7 separate regions of the Homo sapiens genome follow, and regions 1, 2, 4, 5, 6 and 7 are each linked to region 3. Evidence: promoter capture Hi-C in human tissues and cell types (Jung and others, 2019). All regions are on one chromosome and are shown on one strand. Each heading gives the region's core, a stretch centred on a gene start or on the middle of the fragment in contact. The rest is flanking DNA. Distances are from core to core; before and after follow the strand shown. Region 1 has its middle 89 kb from the start of LYPLAL1. Region 2 has its middle 120 kb from the start of LYPLAL1. Region 3 holds the start of TGFB2 (transforming growth factor beta 2). Region 4 has its middle 82 kb from the start of LINC01710. Region 5 has its middle 99 kb from the start of LINC01710. Region 6 has its middle 43 kb from the start of LINC01710. Region 7 has its middle 59 kb from the start of LINC01710.

Region 1 (2,700 bases), core at 111-2,610, 920 kb after region 3:
TGGCTTGGTAGTGGCAAATTCTCTCAGCATTTGTTTGTCTGAAAAATACTTTATCTCTCCTTCGTTTATGAAACTTAGTTTAGCTGGATACAAAAATCTTGGCTGATAGTTATTTTGTTTGAGGAGACTGAAGATAGATCCTCAATCCCTTCTGGCTTATAGGGCTTCTGCTGAGAAATCTGCTGTTAATCTGATAGGTTTTTCGTTACAGGTTAACTGATACCTTTGCCTCACTTCATCTTGGCCTTATGTAACCTGATGATTATGTGCCTAGGTGATGATCTTTTTGCAATGAATTTCCCAGGTGTTCTTTGAGCGCCTTGTATTTGGAGGTCTGGATCTTTGGCAAGGCCGGGGAATGTTTGCTTGATTATTCCCTTGAATAAGTTTTCCAAACTTTTAGATTTCTCTTCTTTCTCAAGAACACTAATTATTCTTAGGTTTAGTCGTTTAACATAATCCCAAATTTCTCAGAGACTTTGTTTATATTTTTTTGTTCTTTCTTATTTGACTCTGTCTGATTGGGTTAATTCAAAAGCCTTGTTTTTGAGCTTTGAAGTTCTTTCTTCTACTTGTTCTAGTCTATTGTTCAAACTTTCTGGTGTAATTTGTATTTCTCTAAATGTGTCTTTCATTTCCAGAAGTTGTGATTGTTTTTTCTTTATGATATCTATTTTTCTGGAAATAATTCATCTATATCCTGTATTATTTTTTACATTTATTTAATTTGGTTTTCATCTTTCTCTGCTATCTCTTTGAGTAGTTTAATAATCAACCTTCTGAATTCTTTATCTGAGAATTCAGAGATTTCTTCTTGGTTTGGATCCATTAATCTTTTGGGGGTGTTATAAAACCTTGTTTCATCATATTACCAGAATTACTTTTCTGGTTCCTTCTGATTTGGGTACACTATTTCAGAGGAAAAGTCTGGAACTCAAGGGCTGCTGTTCTGATTCTTTTGTACAATAGGGTGATCCCTTGATGTAGTGCTCTCCCACTTTCCCTAGGGATGGGGCTTCCTGAGATCCAAACTGCTGCGATTATTATTGCTTTTCTGGGTCTAGCCACCCAGTGGGGCTACCAGGCTCTGAGCTGGTACTAGGAAATGTCTGCAAAGAGTCCTGTGATGTGATTCATCTTCAGGTCTCCCAGCTGTGGATACCAGCACCTGCTTTGGTGGAGGTGGCAGGGGAGGGAAGTAGACTCTGTGAGAGTCCTTGGTTGTAGTTATGTTTAGCGTTTTGGTTTTCTCAAATGCTAGTTATTCTAGCAGTGAAGTTGTCACATGGACAGAGTCAGGACCTCTGGTTAGCCAGGACGTTGCAGGCAGAGGAATTAGCTGTTGTTTTGTCTTTCCTTGGAGCAGGATTATTCTGTCATGAATTGCTGTAATGGTTTGAGTTGGTTGGCCTCTAGCCAGGAGGTGGCACTTTCAAGAGAGCACCAGCTGTGGCAGTAGAAGGGGGATATAAGCTTGCCCTAAGTTGGACAGGATAAGTTTCTCAGGTAATGGGCAGGGCCATAAAGCTCCCAAGAATTTATGTGTTTTGTGTTTGGCTACCAGGCAGGTAGAGGAAAACCATGCAGGTCAGACTCTCCTTGGGTCAGGCTTGCTACGTCCACTGTGGGGTATGGGGAGGTGGTTATCAGGCCAATGGAGTTATGTTTCAAGGGGGATTATGGCTGCTTCTGCTTCATTGTATATGTCACCAGGGAAGTGGGGGAAACCTAGCAGTTATAGGTGTTACCCAGCTCCCACACAGCTGGTGAGGCCAGTCTCACTTCTGCTGTGCCCCACCAATAGTGCCAAGTTTATATCCAGGCAGCCTGCATGCAGGGCTCAGATCTTGCCCCAGGTTACAAGCCTGCCACTGAGAAAGCAAGCATGGCTTTTAGGTCTCATGCCTCTCCACCTTCCGATACTGATGGCCACTGCTCCTGTGCTGGTATCTCTAGCAATTCCTGTTTGTCCCCTAGATTCTGCTCAAGAAAATTCATGCTTGAACTAAATTATTACGAAGTTCAGTGGGAAGCTTCTTTCACCCTGTGATCCCTCCCTACTTCTGATGGCTACCTTCTCCAAGGACCCCTGTGAGATAGAGTCAGGGATGGCTTCCCTGGGCTTGAGCTGGGACCTGGGAGTGCCTACAGGGCTCTTCCTGCTGCTTCTTCTGCTTTAATATTTTGCTCAGCTCCCTAAATTTGTTTCAGTTCTACGTAAGGTTAAATCTTTTTCTCATGACCTGGATTTTCAGATTCCGCAGTGGGATGTGTGTTCAGAGGCATATTTTCCCCTTTCATACTTTGGGAACTCACAGTTTTTTGGCTATCTCATGGAGTTTGCAGTGGCCAGCCACTTCTTCCGCAGGATCTGTGAACTCTTTCAGTCTTCCTGGCATGTTCCTGTGGCAGGTCTCAGAGCAAAAGTTCATAGTGTGAGTCTTCACATGCTGTCCTGTCTGTCCAACTGGGAGCTGCCCATTAGTCCTGTCTCCCATCTGCCATTTTCTCTCCTTAATCCTGATAAACTAATCCAATTTTTATTTTTTAAAAAATCACTGCTATACCTATCTCCAGTGTCAAAGTCTTTCTAGAGTAATCCTATATTCAGGTCTGTATCACACAGTACTAACCAAAGAGTCCACTCTGTTCTAACAGCTGAATATTTACTACTGGCAGTGGTATCAGAGAAAGAAAGAA
Region 2 (2,700 bases), core at 122-2,621, 940 kb after region 3:
GCTATCAGGCCATAGAAAAGCACAAAGGAAACTTAAGTGCATATTTTACTAAGTGAAAGAAGCCAATCTGAAAAGGCCATATGATGTACTCCAAATATATGACATTCTGGAAAAGGTAAAACTATGGAATCAGTTAAAAGAAAAAGATCAGTGACTGCCAGGGTTTGAGGCGTGGGATAATTTATCTACAGAAAATTTTCAGGGCAGTGAAAATTTTCACGGAAGCACAGAAGATTTTCAGGGCAGTGAAAACACTCTGTATAATGCTATATTGATGAATACATATTATTATACATTTACCTAAACCCATAGGATATACAACACTAAGCATGAACCTTAAGGGAAACTATGGACTTTGGGTGATATTGATGTGCCAATGTCGTTTCATCGACTGTAACAAATGCACCACTCTGGTGGGAGATGTTGACAATGGGGAAGGCTGACCATATGTGGAGACAAGAGTATATAAGAAATCTCTGTATCTTCTTCTCAATGTTGCCATAAACTTAAAACTGCTCTTAAAAAACTTGTCTTACATGTTTTAAAATTGTACTTTAACTTGTGAGAATTGTGGTAGAAGTACGCTTTAAAATTAATTCATGCCTCTAAAATATTGCATTTGTCATAAAATGTCATTAGGCACGCTCTCATTTAAATCGTCTTGCTCGAATTTGGTCAGGAAATGTTACCGTCTTAATACATCTGGATGATAAACATAGGCTCCTTTCCTTCTAGGGAGGCCATGCAGAAATGTGCTGGCACAAGTTACCTCTTGTTTTGTTTTTTTTGTTTTTTTTGCCTTTGGAAATTTCTTTGGAGGCACAGGACCCGAGGATGTGTAACTGAGATACATTTCTAAGGGCCCAAGGTTAGAGAGAAAAAGGAGGCGGCAGAGAAAAATTTGATAAGTATCAGAGTACATGCTATGCTTAATGCCGAAACCTGATCATTACTTAGTCTGTCCACCTCCCAATCATCGTGATCTGAGAACCAAGGAAGCCCGTGAGAGCTGTAGTGAGATCAAATGAGGGGATGCATGTGAAATGATTTTGTAAATTGTGAAGTGCTGTATATTTATATTCTTCTCACAGAATGGAGGCTCTGTGGGGAGTTTTTATTAGGTACTATGGGAAGAGAATATGAAAGAAATCGAATTCACAATCCTTGTGCCTAATGATCTTACAGATTAATAGCAGACAGAACACGGCAAGAGAGCTATTGTGAGAAAATAATATACCACACACATAAAAATCTATAATACAAGCCAATAGGCTGTAGAGTGTGGGCATGCAGAAAGAAGTATGGTTTTCAGTGAAGACTCTGCTTCAAGTAGAAAATTACTCTCAGTCTTTTCACCCACATTCTGTTTTAGATGTTTTTCTTTTTCATGAGCTGCTGGTATTGTCAAACACTTTCAAGCGTATTGTTTTAGTTAATGCCCACAATTGCTCGCGCCATCCTCATTTTATAAATTAAGAAACCACAGTTCAGAAAAGTTAAATAAATATTTCAAAGATGACATAATTAAGTGACCAAATTTGGGTTTAAATCCAAGCAGATCTCTCTGATATTAATGCCCCTTGGCCACCCTACCTTTTTCATCAGAGAAACACATTAGTTATCCCTTCCTTAATTGAATGAGAATTAGTGTCTAATGGCCAATCCTACTGATCCACAATCCTCTAAATCCAGATAACCTGGGGCTCAGTGAGAGCTGCAGGTAAGCAGCAAAATCCTGGAGGTTTGGCTCTGCCTTTCTAATGCCAGGAGACTGAGAAATGTCAGCCTTGGAGAAACAACAGGTCACCTAGGTGCTCTTGCTAAGACCCATCAGAATGCTCAGGTGTGATGTCTTGGTTTCATGCTGCAAATAAATAAGTAAATAAATGGACATGATTGTGGCTCTATTGTGCTGTGTCATTCTTAGGCATAGTTGGTTTCTCCTGCTAGTGTGCTTCCATGTCTTCCATCTCACTGTTAGAGGCATTCGAACCAGAGGAACTCCATCTTGAGTGAGGGCTAGGAAAAATGAGGCTGAGACTTTCTGGGCTGCATTCCCAGGACGTTAGTTATTCCTAGCCCCTCTACATGTTTAGGTTTAAAAGAACAGATTGATAACATTTACTAAACAGACCCAGACTTCCAACATCTTGAGAAGCATTTCTAATTTTGCTTTAAAAATAATAATATTGATTTTTACAAAATACAGTGATTAAGAAAAGTAACCCTTTATCACAAACCCTTATAGCAGAGCACATCTCCCTATGATATGTTGTTGTTGTTGTTATCCTATATATAAACAAGTATTGTACCTAGAGTGGGAGCATTCCTCCTCTTACTTTCGGGAATGCCCTTCTCTGTCTGCGGAATAGCTATTCTTTCACCACTTTACTTTCTTAATAAACTCGCTTTCATTTTGCACTGTGGACTCGCCCCAAATTCTTTCTTGAGCGACATCCAAGAACCCTCTCTTGCAGTCTGGATTGGGACCCCTAACATAACTTGTGACCATACCCAAATGCACTATCTTTATATTCTGTACATGCACATTACACATGGCAGGTATTCACAAAGTTTTGTTGAATATACTCTATTCACAGACCAGCCTGGTGTAGGAGGTAAGCACAGTTTATGGTCATGGAAAACCTGAGATCAAATCCTATATCTACTATTACTGGCTGTAAAATCTCAATCAAGTTA
Region 3 (2,700 bases), core at 194-2,693:
AATGTTCCAGAATGAGGAATCTAAGAGGACAGGAGAGTACCCAGTATCTCCCAAACTTGTTTGACTCCAGAATTCCTGTTTGTCAGAACATATTCTGGGACCATTGTTTCTCAGAAGTACATAGTAGGTAAGAACATAGTGGATCCTGACTGCAAAAATCCAGCTCTACCACTTACTGTGGTCTCGAACAAAGTACTTAACTTCTTTGTACCTCAGTCTCCTCATCTGCCAGATATGGATAATAAGACCCACTTTATAGGTTCATAGTGAAGATTAAATGACCATACACAACACACATCAAATTACTAAGTGTAGTATATGTTAGCTATTATTATTTTATTTATTCAGTGCTCTACTAATAACCTAGGCCCCATACACAACTGAAGTATAAATTCCAAAAGTGATAGAAAGTTCTTTGTGACTTTTCTGAACTCAGGAACATCTGAAGTAGAGAACAGTATAGAGATCTTGGGTTTGGGAGTACATTCAACAGAGTTTCCAGTTTAAATCATCTGTCTGGTCAGTATGGCTGCAGAGTCATGCCGAAATGAAAATGTTGACTTTGAGTAACTAAAGGTAAAATAAAAGAAAAAGGGAAGGTGGAACAGTGGTAAGAGTTATTCTTGTATTCATCTAATTTAGACTTAGTTGAAATTGAAAATGTCAAGTTATGAGTAGTGTAGAACAGTAGACATCAAACACTTAAAATTCCAGCTTCCTGGATTAATGCTATGGAAAGAATGAAGTTGGTTGATAATGTTTAGCCTAGCAAGAAGGTGAAGAAGAAAGCCATACAAGAAGTGGCTTAGGCAGCAAATTATAAAGGTGACCATTCATTCAAATCAGTAAAACAAACAAGTATACCTTATTCTTTAGGTAAAATTGATGGATCTCTGTTTTCCAGCAGTTCACAAACAGAGGGGTACATTGTAAACAACAAACTAACAAAATAAATTCTGGGATGGCAACCTGCTAAGGTATCCCAGAAAATAAGAGGTAGGACATGAATTTAAAAGATTGGAAGGTATGTCTTCAGTACTGGCCTGGCCCTGAGTAGACTAGTGCTCCCTCCCATAGGGGTGCGTGTGCACACATAATACAGGAGGGAAGCCTTCCCTTCTAGAGCAAGTGATTCAGCTTGGGAGGCTGTGACTGAGCTACACTAAGTAAAAACGGGAGACTTGATTGTCCTTCCTTCAACAGACCTGTCCAAAATGACTGGAAAGTAAATACCGTAAATCACTGTTGTCAGGGCGCACATTCCACCTCCTTCCTCCCTTACCCACAGCGGTCCTCATTTCCACACTCCCTCAACGGTTCGGGGAGAGCTCGTGGTCTAAGTAACGAGAGGACTTCTGACTGTAATCCTAGCACGTCACTTTGTTGAAGGCAGACACGTGGTTCAGAGAGAACTTATAAATCTCCCCTCCCCGGCAAGATCGTGATGTTATCTGCTGGCAGCAGAAGGTTCGCTCCGAGCGGAGCTCCAGAAGCTCCTGACAAGAGAAAGACAGATTGAGATAGAGATAGAAAGAGAAAGAGAGAAAGAGACAGCAGAGCGAGAGCGCAAGTGAAAGAGGCAGGGGAGGGGGATGGAGAATATTAGCCTGACGGTCTAGGGAGTCATCCAGGAACAAACTGAGGGGCTGCCCGGCTGCAGACAGGAGGAGACAGAGAGGATCTATTTTAGGGTGGCAAGTGCCTACCTACCCTAAGCGAGCAATTCCACGTTGGGGAGAAGCCAGCAGAGGTTGGGAAAGGGTGGGAGTCCAAGGGAGCCCCTGCGCAACCCCCTCAGGAATAAAACTCCCCAGCCAGGGTGTCGCAAGGGCTGCCGTTGTGATCCGCAGGGGGTGAACGCAACCGCGACGGCTGATCGTCTGTGGCTGGGTTGGCGTTTGGAGCAAGAGAAGGAGGAGCAGGAGAAGGAGGGAGCTGGAGGCTGGAAGCGTTTGCAAGCGGCGGCGGCAGCAACGTGGAGTAACCAAGCGGGTCAGCGCGCGCCCGCCAGGGTGTAGGCCACGGAGCGCAGCTCCCAGAGCAGGATCCGCGCCGCCTCAGCAGCCTCTGCGGCCCCTGCGGCACCCGACCGAGTACCGAGCGCCCTGCGAAGCGCACCCTCCTCCCCGCGGTGCGCTGGGCTCGCCCCCAGCGCGCGCACACGCACACACACACACACACACACACACGCACGCACACACGTGTGCGCTTCTCTGCTCCGGAGCTGCTGCTGCTCCTGCTCTCAGCGCCGCAGTGGAAGGCAGGACCGAACCGCTCCTTCTTTAAATATATAAATTTCAGCCCAGGTCAGCCTCGGCGGCCCCCCTCACCGCGCTCCCGGCGCCCCTCCCGTCAGTTCGCCAGCTGCCAGCCCCGGGACCTTTTCATCTCTTCCCTTTTGGCCGGAGGAGCCGAGTTCAGATCCGCCACTCCGCACCCGAGACTGACACACTGAACTCCACTTCCTCCTCTTAAATTTATTTCTACTTAATAGCCACTCGTCTCTTTTTTTCCCCATCTCATTGCTCCAAGAATTTTTTTCTTCTTACTCGCCAAAGTCAGGGTTCCCTCTGCCCGTCCCGTATTAATATTTCCACTTTTGGAACTACTGGCCTTTTCTTTTTAAAGGAATTCAAGCAGGATACGTTTTTCTGTTGGGCATTGACTAGATTGTTTGCAAAAGTTTCGCATCAAAAACAA
Region 4 (2,700 bases), core at 110-2,609, 660 kb after region 3:
GCTAGACAAATAAATGATAAAGTTCATTAGAGAGAATAAAAAAGCAAGAATAGCTAGGAAATCCCAGAAAAATAAAAGCAAGAAATGAAATGAAGAATACTTAGCCAGATATTAAAGCATATCACAAAAGCTTTATAGTTAAAATAATGCAGTATCAGTACATAAATACACAGACCATTGTAACAGAAAAAAACAATACATTGATCACTTATGCAATCAAGAAAGGCATTATTGCAAACCACTGATGACAAGGTGTATTGTTTTATATATATATATAAAATATATATAACTGGATAGCGAAAGAGAAAGAAAATTAGATTTTTTTTAAAGAAGGGAAGCACATTTTATTTGTAGTGAACAATAATTCTAATTGAGTTGAATTATATTACTGTTGATCTTAGAAACTATAGAGGCTTTACATATTTCTCAGATGCATAATATAATCTGTAAGGTGATTACTATGTGGAGAAAAACAAGGATAAAAGAAACCAAAACTGGAAATGGTGCATGATAAAGGAAACCAGAAGTGAGTATATTCCCACTAACTTTGAAATTAGAACCAAAAAAATTAACTTCAGTTTGTTTAGCATAAGAGCATTTGCATTGCAGCCTTTTTTGATATGTAAGATAATGCCTGCAGAGTTCTAGTATTGTGCTCAGTAAAAGTAATATTATCGTTGGATTTCATATCCCCTGAAATTCCCAAAATGATACGTGTATATAACTCCTGACAGATTAACATAATATACATGTATTCAAATTTTTATTTTTAAAAATCAGTTTACTCCAGATACCGAGATCCTCTTATAATTTATTTTCACTTTTATATAAACTTTTTATTTTATAATAGATTGGAACTTACAGAAGCATTGTGAAGATAGGACAGAGGGTTCAATGTACTCCACATGCCGTTCCCCTAATTATTAACATCTTATGTCAGAATGGCAGATTTATTACAATTAATAAAGCAATATTAATACATTTTTACTAACTAAAGTCCATGCTTTATTCAGCTTTCTTTCATTTTTAAATTTCTTTAATTTTAGTATTCTTCCTTCTTTTCCAACATCCCATATAGGATGCCACATTACATTTAGTTATTATGTCTCCTTAGGCTTCTAGAGTGCTTCAGACTTTCCTTGTTTTTGATGACCTTGACAGTTTTGAGAAGGCATTTGAAGAATGTCCTTCAATCAAGATTTAAATTGTTTTTCTCATGCTTTGACTGACGCTATGAGATTTGTCAGGAACAATTAAAAAGCTAAAGTATTTCTTTTCATTACATCATATAAAGTGTATATACTATTAATGTGAATTGTCACTGTTGATGTTAATCTTGACCACCTGGCTGATGTAAAGTTTGCCTTTTTCACTGTGAAGTTAATATTTTTCCCCTTTCCATACTAGACTATTTAGAAGACAGTATCTATGTACAGCCCACACTGTAGGAGTGGGGAGTTAAGCTCCACTTCCTTGAGGTCAGAGTAACTACTTTATATAAATTATTTGGTCTTATTCTGCATGGCAGGTTTGTTTAATCTCCCCAATTCCTTATTTTTTCAATTATGTATTTATATTAGTATAGACTCATAGATAGTTATCTTATACTTTTGTTGATAATTCAATACTCTTTCATTTATTTCATTGCTTCAATTGTTCCAGCTCTGGCCATTGGAGCTCTTTCAGTGGGCTTCTGTGCTCCATTGACATATCTCCATCATTGTGGGATTTTCTTTTGTTTAGCACTTTTTTGTTTCTGGCACTACAAAATGCTCCAGGCTTATCTTGCACATTTTTCTGCCCCAGTCCTTTGAATAACCAATGTAAATGAATCACCAGTGTAAACAGTCATTTCACCAAGAAACCTTGTTCCCTTTTTACTGGAAATTGCTATTAAAAAACAAAATCTGGGTACTAGATGGTATGCTTATTTCTACTGGGGTGTCATTTCTTCTAAGTCCTCTTAGCTGAAAAAGTAAGAGAAACGTGTGTATAGCAACCCATATATATTTCTTCTTTTTTTTGAGGTGGAGTCCCGCTCTGTCACCAGGCTGGAGTGCAGTGGTGCAATCTCAGCTCACTGCAACCTCCACCTCCTGGGTTCAAGCAATTCTCCTGCCTCAGCCTCCCGAGTAGCTGGGACTACAGGCACGGGCCACAATGTCCAGCTAATTTTTGTATTTTTAGTAGAGATGGGGTTTCACCATGTTGGCCAGGATGGTCTCGATCTCTTGACCTCGTGATCCACGTGCCTCAGCCTCCCAAAGTGCTGGGATTACAGGCATGAGCCACCGCGCCTAGCCCCAACCCATATATATTTCTATGTGTAACCATCTGTATCTGTAATTAGTTAATCATGATTTCATACTGCTGTCTCCAACTGTAATCCATTACCACAGGGATGATTATATCCTCATCCTGTTGCTTATTTTTAAGGTTGCACTCCAACAGCAAGAAGCCTGGCTCCTACTCTCTTCTATCCATTTACTTAATTGTTCAATTACAATGTATATGTATAAAAGTATCAGAACTCATCATTTGTATTTCCCTAGGAAACCACTTCATCAACTATAGTACAGTGCTTTATGTAGAGTTTCTTTAGCTCTTATTCTCACACACTACTCAGTTGCAAAATTACTCAGGTCAGCACCTTTTTGCTTACCCACTTCAGTAAGTTTGTCTTATACATTTACAATAGAG
Region 5 (2,700 bases), core at 195-2,694, 670 kb after region 3:
AAAGTGTTAACAACTGCCTGAGGCTATAGCTTTTAATAAGCGGCATATCTAAATGTGTAGAAGAAATGCACAGCCTCCTCCTCAGGAACTGAACAGTGACCCACTGGCAGGGTAATTGAATTTTTAATATATTTAATATCATAAAGTAATAGTCCTGAGTGTTTTTATATTACCTAGTTTGGACTTGCAGCACTGCAAACTAGGAAGGTAACCAAAAAGTTGTTAGAAAGTACACACAGAGAAATTAAGAAAATCAAAAGATATCTTCCACAAAAAATAAACCTGCAAACAAAAATTCCAAAATACATGAAGAATTGAACAAAATTTAAAGTTAAAAAGTATCAAAATCAATAATTAAAAGATATTTCACTTCAAATGAAATTGATTTTATAGATGTCTAGCAAATAATTTGAGACAAATTAATTAGTATCCTCATAGACAATAATTAAAGAATAATTTCTATTCAAAAAGGTAAACATTTATTACACAGCATAGGCATAACTGAGCAAAACCTTGGAAAAAAACAATAAGAGATTACGAAAATTATCATTTTAATCATTGAAATAAAAGGACAGAGAGTGGTTTCCAGATTGGCATGTAAGGAGCTTGGAAGCTGTCACTCCATTCTAACAAGTAAAAATCTGAACAAACTGCAAAATCAATAACTCTTCTTCTAAGAGGTATCTACACCTCACAGAAATGAGGTCACAGGGTCAACAATTGCCCCCAAAACTGGTGAGACAGACAGGAAGTTACAGAGAATCACAACTGACCAGAGCTGGAACCTCACAGGAATGAGGACTGAAGTAGGAAAATATGAACTGTAATTGAGAAATAGAGATTTCATGAGGACAATTCTAGGGGTTACAATCTCCAGGAAGACCTAGTAATGGGGAGGCCAATACATTTTTGAGAGCTTTACCTCCAGAAACTACTAGGTTTTCATTGTAAATACCAGAGAAAAATTCCATCATGCTTCCAAAAAGGGGAGGGGAAAAGTAACTATTTTGAGATACGGCAGAGTATTCTGTTCTTTTTAACAAGGCCTGACCACAAGACAAATTATTTTACCTGAGCCTAGCCTACTATGTTTTTATCAGTGCATAACTGACTTGGAGGAAGGAAAATATTCAACTTTAGCCCAGTATCACCTTCTTTCCATCTGGGGGATGTAAAATACCCAAGTCCAGCTTACACCAGCCTTTCACATAAAGGGATAAAACTACCCAACTTCTGCCCCTACTAGCTATCCTATCTCACATAAGGGGTAGGTGGGTGGGGTGGGAAAATGAGAAGAACTGGTAATTATCAGTTTACCAGCTCACCAAAAGAATAAGACTTAATCGTAAGACTATAAAATGCTTCCCCTACTCCCAAAGCTTACCATCACATTACTAAAGGCCTAATTTACCACAGATCACTTTACCTAGTACATTATGCTCAGTTTGTACCAAAAAATTAAGACCATACCCAAGAGGGAAAATACAATTTGAAGAGACAAAGAAAATATCAGAAACAGACATAGGAGAAATGTTGGAATTATGAGATTGGGAATTAAAACAACTATGACTAATACGATAAAGGCTCTAACTGATAAAGTAGATGGCATGCGAAACAAAATGGGTAATGTAAGCAGAGGGATGAAAAATTAGAAAGAAACCAAAATTGCTATAGATGAAAAACACTGTTTCAGAAATGAAGAATGCCTTTTGTAGACTCCTGAGATGACTGGGCATGGCTGAGGAAAGAATTTCTGAGAATATGTCAATAGAAACATACAAACTGAAATGCAAAGGAAAAAAGGCTGAGGGAAAAAAAATAACAGAACATCTAAGGACTTTTGTAGTGGGACAACTACAGAATGTGTAACTTACGCATAATGAGAATACCAGAAGAGAAGAAACAGAGAAAGAAACAGAAGAAATGTTTGAAACAATAATGACTGAAAATAACCTCCAAAGTAATGTCAGACACCAAACCACAAGCCCAGGATGCTCACAGGACAACAAGGAGGATAAATGCCAAACACACCCACACCCTCACCTAGGCATATCATTTTTAAACTATATAAAACCAAACAAGTGAGAAAAATTTTTGAAGGAGATCAGAGGGGAAAAAAAAGCACCTTACCTACAGAGAAACAAAGATAAGAATTGCATGACTTTCCTCAGAAACCATGTGAGCAAGAAGAGAGTAGAGGGAACTATTTACAGTGTTGAGAGCAAAACTGCCAAACTATAGTTCTATATCATGTAAAATTATTCTTCAAAAGTGAAAGAGAAATAAAGTCTTTCTTAGACAAACCCAAATGAAAATATTTTTTGACAGTAGACATGCTTTGCAAGAAATGTTAAAAACAAAATTCTTTAGCGAGAAGGAAAATCTTATAGGTCAGAAACTTGGTCTACATGAAGAAAGCATTAAAGAAGAAATAAGTTAAGGTAAAATAAAAGCTTTTTTTATTCTTAATTGTTCTAACAGATAACAACTTATTTAAAAGAGTCATAGCAACAATGTATTCAATTAGGTATGCTTACGTATATGTCATATACATATATATGCATGTTTGCATACAAATGAAATGAATAATAAGAATCATACAAAGAATGGGGGCATTAAATGTATCTGGTTAACATAAAGCACTCACACTAACTGTGAATGGTATACTGTTATTTAAAAGTGGACTTGGATTAGGGTTTT
Region 6 (2,700 bases), core at 170-2,669, 620 kb after region 3:
TGTGACACATATTGCCATAGGTACAGTATTGCCATAGGTACAGTAAAACAATGGTGAATGAAAACTCAGCCTAGTGATAAATCAGGCTGCTACACAAATAATTCAACATAATGTGGAATGGCTCAAAGCAGCATGATTTATGATGTAATCAAGTACCAGGAAAGGAGCACTCATTCTGCTGCTTTGCCTGGAGGGTTTCAGGCGAGTTTTTTTTTTTTTTAACTTATATTTTAAGTTCAGGGGTACAAGTTCAGGTTTGTGACATAGGTAAACTTGTGTCATGGGGGGTTGTTGTACAGATTATCTTATCACCCAGGTATTAAGCATAGTGTCAATTAGTTTTTTTTCCATGATCCTCTCCCTCCTCCCCCTCCACTTTCCGATAGGCTGCTATGTGTGTTGTTCCCCTCTATGGGTCCATGTGTTCTCATCATTTAGTTCCCACTTAGAAGTGAGAACATGTGGTATTTGCTTTTCTGTTTCTGCGTTAGTTTGCTAGGATAATGGCCTCCAGCTCCATCTATGTCCCTAGGATGTGACATTTGAATGGAATTACACCTGTAACCCTCAGCATTAGCAATTATTTCCTCCAGTGGCATCCTCTCCCTAACACTTTTGCATGACTGACATCTCTTCTTCAGGTATTAGTTTGAGTGTTACGCAGTTAGAGGGGTCTTCATGATCACACGTCTGTAATGGTAAACTCTCTGTGATGGTAAACATGGCCATTTTCTATCACAGCTCCCTCTTCTTTCCTTTTTAGAGCAAATCACCTTCTTTATTATTGTAGATATTTTATTATTTAATGTATTCATTCATTTATTGTCTGTTTCCCCACTTGAATGCAAGCTCCATGAGGGTAGTAAGCTGAGTCTTGTTCACTATTACATTCCTGGTGCCTAGCCTCATGTCTAGCAAAGTAGATGCTGAATAAATATTTATTGACTAAATGAATTGCAATATAGCTACTTAGAATAACCACAATTATTTGTTATTACAAATAATATTGCAATATAATGTTTGCCTGTATATCATCTTGATTATATTGTGAGCCTCTTATAAAAGATTCCTGCTTTATTGATTTGATTCTTTTTTACTATGGAAATTCTTTCTGCTCTCTCATAACTAGTATGTATTCAATCAGTTCTTTCTTCATAAATAAATGTAGAAATTATTCTTCCTTTATCCATCGACTTTACTTGAAGGAAGATAAGGCCATTACAAAGGAAACTTTTTTAAAAGCCTATCAAAAAGTTTAAGGAAGAAAACTAAGTTGTGCCACTCCAAGTTGAGCAAAAATAGTCTGCCATTTTGCAGAAAGAAAAACAAACAAAAAAAAAGAAAACTTCTGAGATCACTTTCTAGATATAATGTGGATAAAAATTGTGACAAGATGAAGTATTCAAGAATGTGACCACTAAACAGAGCCCTGTTGGAAACTCTTTTGATTTTTATCCTTGGACATATCTTGAGAGGTCAGTAGTCTACCAGGTGACCAGAGACGGCATTTCCTCCCTGTCAATGCTTGGTACATTCACTTTGCCTCAAATGTGGCAAACATCTCAGATTTATTCCTTGATGTCTCAATTTTAGCATGAACTCCTGAGGCCATTTGAGTTACAAATTGACAAGCATGAAGATTAAGCAATATCTGTTTAAAAAAAAAAAAACATAGACTTCATCATACTAAAACTCCTTTTAATGTTATGCCCTAGCAGGACTTTTTGATGTAGTACCACCCCTTATCAAAATAACCTTGGAGTCCAATTTATCCCTTTCTTTATCATGATTAAGGAAATTGCCATATACGTTGATGGAATGATAATTAAACATTTGGCTGGAACTTGTGCCTGGGAATCAATTCAAAATGAAAAAATTATTGAGTGTCTACTATGCACACAGCCAGAACCAGGTATCACTGGTCCCTCATTGTTTGTACTCTAGCTGGAAACACAGACATTGAAGCAGGGAATTTCAGTGTCATGTGGTATTAGTCTAAGGTATACATGTGGTGCCATAATAGCTCTTAGAAGGAGTATCTCATCCAGATATGATCAGGGAGATCTTTGTACAGCTGCATATCAAATGCCATAAAAGCAATCTTAATCTTGTTTTACTTTTTCCAGAAGAGTTTGTATCTTCAGAATAGCTTATATTTAAGAATTGTCATCACACTTGCTGATTTTTGTTTGTTTAAAATATTAATTCTTGCTTGCATCAATATATCCTATGTCTAATTTATACTGGCATTCACATAACAAAGCCATCTCTGGGCTCCAGATTATGAGAGTTCCATGCTGCTAAAAACATATCTGTTAAGACCAGTTTTGTCCCTTAATAACTAAACTTTAGTGTATGAGGACCAAGATTGATCTAATTTAATCTCCAGAGTAATTATGATAGCAAGTATCTGGTGCATCACAATTTTTGAACTGGCAAAGTCTGAATTTATGCGATGAATTAAATTTGACATAGACAAACCACTGATGTTCATAGTGCAGATTTTGTAAACATAGGTAAACACATAAGAAAAGGGAGGTCACATCTAGTTGATGCCAACTTCTGATATGGCAAGTCTAGAGAAAATATTGGCTATTAGAGATAAAAAAAACACTGACTACCAAAATTACGTGGCCCACTAGTATTGAGCATTCGCTCTACCATGGTTCAACAGGGCAATTATAGTAATTTACCATATGT
Region 7 (2,700 bases), core at 125-2,624, 630 kb after region 3:
TGACATTTGCAGATTAGCAAGCTTGAAATTTTTAAAAATAAAGCCACAAAAAATTTGACAAGCATTAGAGAAAGGCTTTCTAAGTAAAAAGCAAAAACCATTGAGGAAAACATTCATATATTTGAGAAAAAAATTAAAATTATTAGTATATTAAAAACACTATAAATAAGAAACCAGGATGCAATATTTGCAACGTACATGGTAGACAGAGAGTTACTATCTGATACATAAAAAAAGTTCTTTTACATCAACAGGAAAAAGAAGAATTCTTTAATTGAAAAATAGGCAAAGAATACAAAGAGGCAAATTACAAAAGGAAAATAAACATAAGAGTTTAAATTCAACTGTACCAGTATCACACAGTAAGTTCCATTCTTGGCCATCAAATTGGTGAAGGTTAAAAACTGAAATGAATTCCCTGTGATGGAAGATTATGGGAAAGCAGACACTCTTCTACTCTGCTGGTTCGTCAGTATTTCTGTGTAGAGGATACAACAGTAAATGAGAAAGACAGACCCAGCCCCCATGGAACTCAAGGTCTGTGGGGAAAGCACCACAAACACAGATAGAAATAAAATAGTCAGGGTGGATTTTGGGTGTAGCTGTCAGGTAGAACCCACATTCATTACCCAACTCTTCATCTGAACCCTGTGGTGTAGACACGGGCTAGAAAGGCCAGAATCCAGTCTTTTGGAATGCATGTGGCATACAAGGTATGTTTCCATAGTAGGGCTTCTCATTAAAACCATCCCACAGGTGGGGCCAGAATCAGGATTAGGGAATGGAGGAACACATTTTCTCTTTCTCAGCATTGAAAATAAAGAAACAAACAAGGATAAAACTACTCCCACTTCTTGTTAAGAAGAGGAAACTGTAAATATTTATAATGTAATATGAAGATTAACCTGATGTGTTGGATGTTTTTACTTCCATGATCTCAAGCCAATTCTTCTCTTTAAAAATGACCTTCCTGCCATTTAAAGTAGTTTTAAACTGTCTACATCTTAACCCATTTACCCTAATTCTGGACTATATTCTAAAAAGTAATAATTAAAGAGAAGCTCAAAGGGTTATGTTTCTCTCAGTATTGTTTGTAATAGAAAAATAAAAATTAGAATACTCTACAACAACCTGAAAACTATTTAATAAAAGATTACTAGAAGTAGTTAATATTTTTGTTTGCTAAGATTTTTTCATGAAGAAAAGTGCCCTGAGCATATTTTACATAAATAGTTTATAAAATGGTATGTTTACTACATCCAAATAGTTTTAAAATATATATAATGATGAGAAAGACCAAATGCATGCATTAAAATGTTAATAGTCATTTCCCTGGGTGGGGAAAATGCAAATATTTTGGCTTATATTTTGAAATGTTCTATACTTTCTAAATTTTCTACAGAAATAATTGGGGAGGAAATGTATAATCCTTTCAAGTTTTAGTTTTTTGGAGTTATGCATGTCATTTAATTTCTCAAAATGATGAGGTACATAAATGATTATAATTTTTCTTTTTATAACCATGAATCATCAGGAAATCATGATTAAAGTTTTACTCTTTAATTTTAGTTTCTTGGTAGAAAAGTACAACCTGACTCCAGTGGTATCTGTTATTTTCATTTAGGAAAGATAAAAGAGTACAATTACATCCTAGAACTGTGAGAAACTATCCACATTTCAGTGTTTAAGTGAGTTATTCCCAGGGGTGGTTTTGTGATGCCCCATCCTGTTATTTCCAATGACTATTTCTGATGTTATTTCATATTTCTCAAAGGATTATCACAATCTATGAACCATCTTTTGCCTCACCCACTCTTCAATCTTTCATGTGTAATCTGTTGAAAGTTCTCCTTGATGCTTCTTTCCAAACCGATATGGTTATTTTGAATATTTCTTTGGAACGTTTAAACTACATTTTAAAATTTAATTCTTTTTAATGGCAAAATCAATTTCTGATCAATGTGGAAAAGTTCGAAAACACAGGTGCATCAAAAAAGAAGATACGTCCCATAATCCCACAGCCCAGAGAGGATGACTCTAAATCCCATGGTATATCTATGCCTTTTCTCATGCATAAATTTTCACTACACATCACACACACAAACATACATATTTTCACCAAATAGGATTATATTGCCTATACATTTTGTCTTTTCACTTAGCAATATATACTGAACATTTTTCCAAGTCAACAAAAATGTATCTATAGTATCATTTTGAAGTGTAAAATGTATTCAACTGTGTAATGTTTATCATTTATTTAATTCTGTAATAATAAACATTTAAATTTTCTATTTTTTAAATGTTTTTAATCATTATTGTCATAAAATGCACTGCAATGAACAACCTTGTAGTTAAATTTGCACGTCATCTAGCTTGAGCTACGTTTTTTGTATATATGTTGGACGCTAACAAAGTCATCAAAGTAAATTCACAATTCTCTCCTCTACATGTGATGTACAATATAAATCAGTATTTCTTTTTTTTTTTCAGACAGAGTTTCACTCTTGTTGCCCAGGCTGGAGTGCAATGGCACGATCTTGGCTCACCACAACCTCTGCCTCCCGGGTTCAAGCGATTCTCCTGCCTTAGCCTCTCGAGTAGCTGAGATTACAGACATGCGCCACCACGTCCGGCTAATTTTGTATTTTTAGTAGAGATGAGGTTTCTCCATGTTGGTCAGGCTGGTCTCTAACTCCT

Evidence for each region. The method cuts DNA at HindIII sites, captures the fragments that hold promoters and counts their contacts. A contact is called where the count stands out against the background at its distance.
Region 1: a fragment that was not itself captured here is called in contact with the fragment with the promoter of TGFB2 in region 3 in 1 of the 25 tissues and cell types used here (aorta).
Region 2: a contact is called between a fragment that was not itself captured here and the fragment with the promoter of TGFB2 in region 3, in 1 of the 25 tissues and cell types used here (lymphoblastoid cells).
Region 4: a contact is called between a fragment that was not itself captured here and the fragment with the promoter of TGFB2 in region 3, in 1 of the 25 tissues and cell types used here (mesenchymal stem cells).
Region 5: a contact is called between a fragment that was not itself captured here and the fragment with the promoter of TGFB2 in region 3, in 2 of the 25 tissues and cell types used here (mesendoderm cells and thymus).
Region 6: a contact is called between a fragment that was not itself captured here and the fragment with the promoter of TGFB2 in region 3, in 2 of the 25 tissues and cell types used here (adrenal gland and mesendoderm cells).
Region 7: a fragment that was not itself captured here is called in contact with the fragment with the promoter of TGFB2 in region 3 in 2 of the 25 tissues and cell types used here (heart right ventricle and neural progenitor cells).

The regions. Positions count from the first base shown.
Region 1 is chr1:219,261,553-219,264,252 of GRCh38, forward strand. It overlaps a transcript of LYPLAL1 not described here. Among named protein-coding and RNA genes, the nearest start is that of LYPLAL1, 89 kb to the left of the region's middle. The HindIII fragment of the contact is 4,009 bases long and covers 1-2,700 here.
Region 2 is chr1:219,288,299-219,290,998 of GRCh38, forward strand. It overlaps a transcript of LYPLAL1 not described here. Among named protein-coding and RNA genes, the nearest start is that of LYPLAL1, 120 kb to the left of the region's middle. The HindIII fragment of the contact is 5,673 bases long and covers 1-2,700 here.
Region 3 is chr1:218,343,893-218,346,592 of GRCh38, forward strand. TGFB2 (transforming growth factor beta 2) reads left to right here and starts at 1,444. Exons shown (of 7, transcript NM_003238.6): 1 at 1,444-2,700. It overlaps TGFB2-AS1 (TGFB2 antisense RNA 1), which reads right to left and starts at 1,786. Exons shown (of 3, transcript NR_046268.1): 1 at 1,711-1,786; 2 at 1,283-1,496; 3 at 304-570. RefSeq lists a silencer at 1,372-1,431 and an enhancer at 1,812-1,861. The HindIII fragment of the contact is 13,667 bases long and covers 1-2,700 here.
Region 4 is chr1:218,999,018-219,001,717 of GRCh38, forward strand. No RefSeq gene overlaps it. Among named protein-coding and RNA genes, the nearest start is that of LINC01710, 82 kb to the left of the region's middle. The HindIII fragment of the contact is 4,618 bases long and covers 1-2,700 here.
Region 5 is chr1:219,016,218-219,018,917 of GRCh38, forward strand. No RefSeq gene overlaps it. Among named protein-coding and RNA genes, the nearest start is that of LINC01710, 99 kb to the left of the region's middle. The HindIII fragment of the contact is 3,766 bases long and covers 1-2,700 here.
Region 6 is chr1:218,959,908-218,962,607 of GRCh38, forward strand. No RefSeq gene overlaps it. Among named protein-coding and RNA genes, the nearest start is that of LINC01710, 43 kb to the left of the region's middle. The HindIII fragment of the contact is 4,652 bases long and covers 1-2,700 here.
Region 7 is chr1:218,976,432-218,979,131 of GRCh38, forward strand. No RefSeq gene overlaps it. Among named protein-coding and RNA genes, the nearest start is that of LINC01710, 59 kb to the left of the region's middle. The HindIII fragment of the contact is 4,084 bases long and covers 1-2,700 here.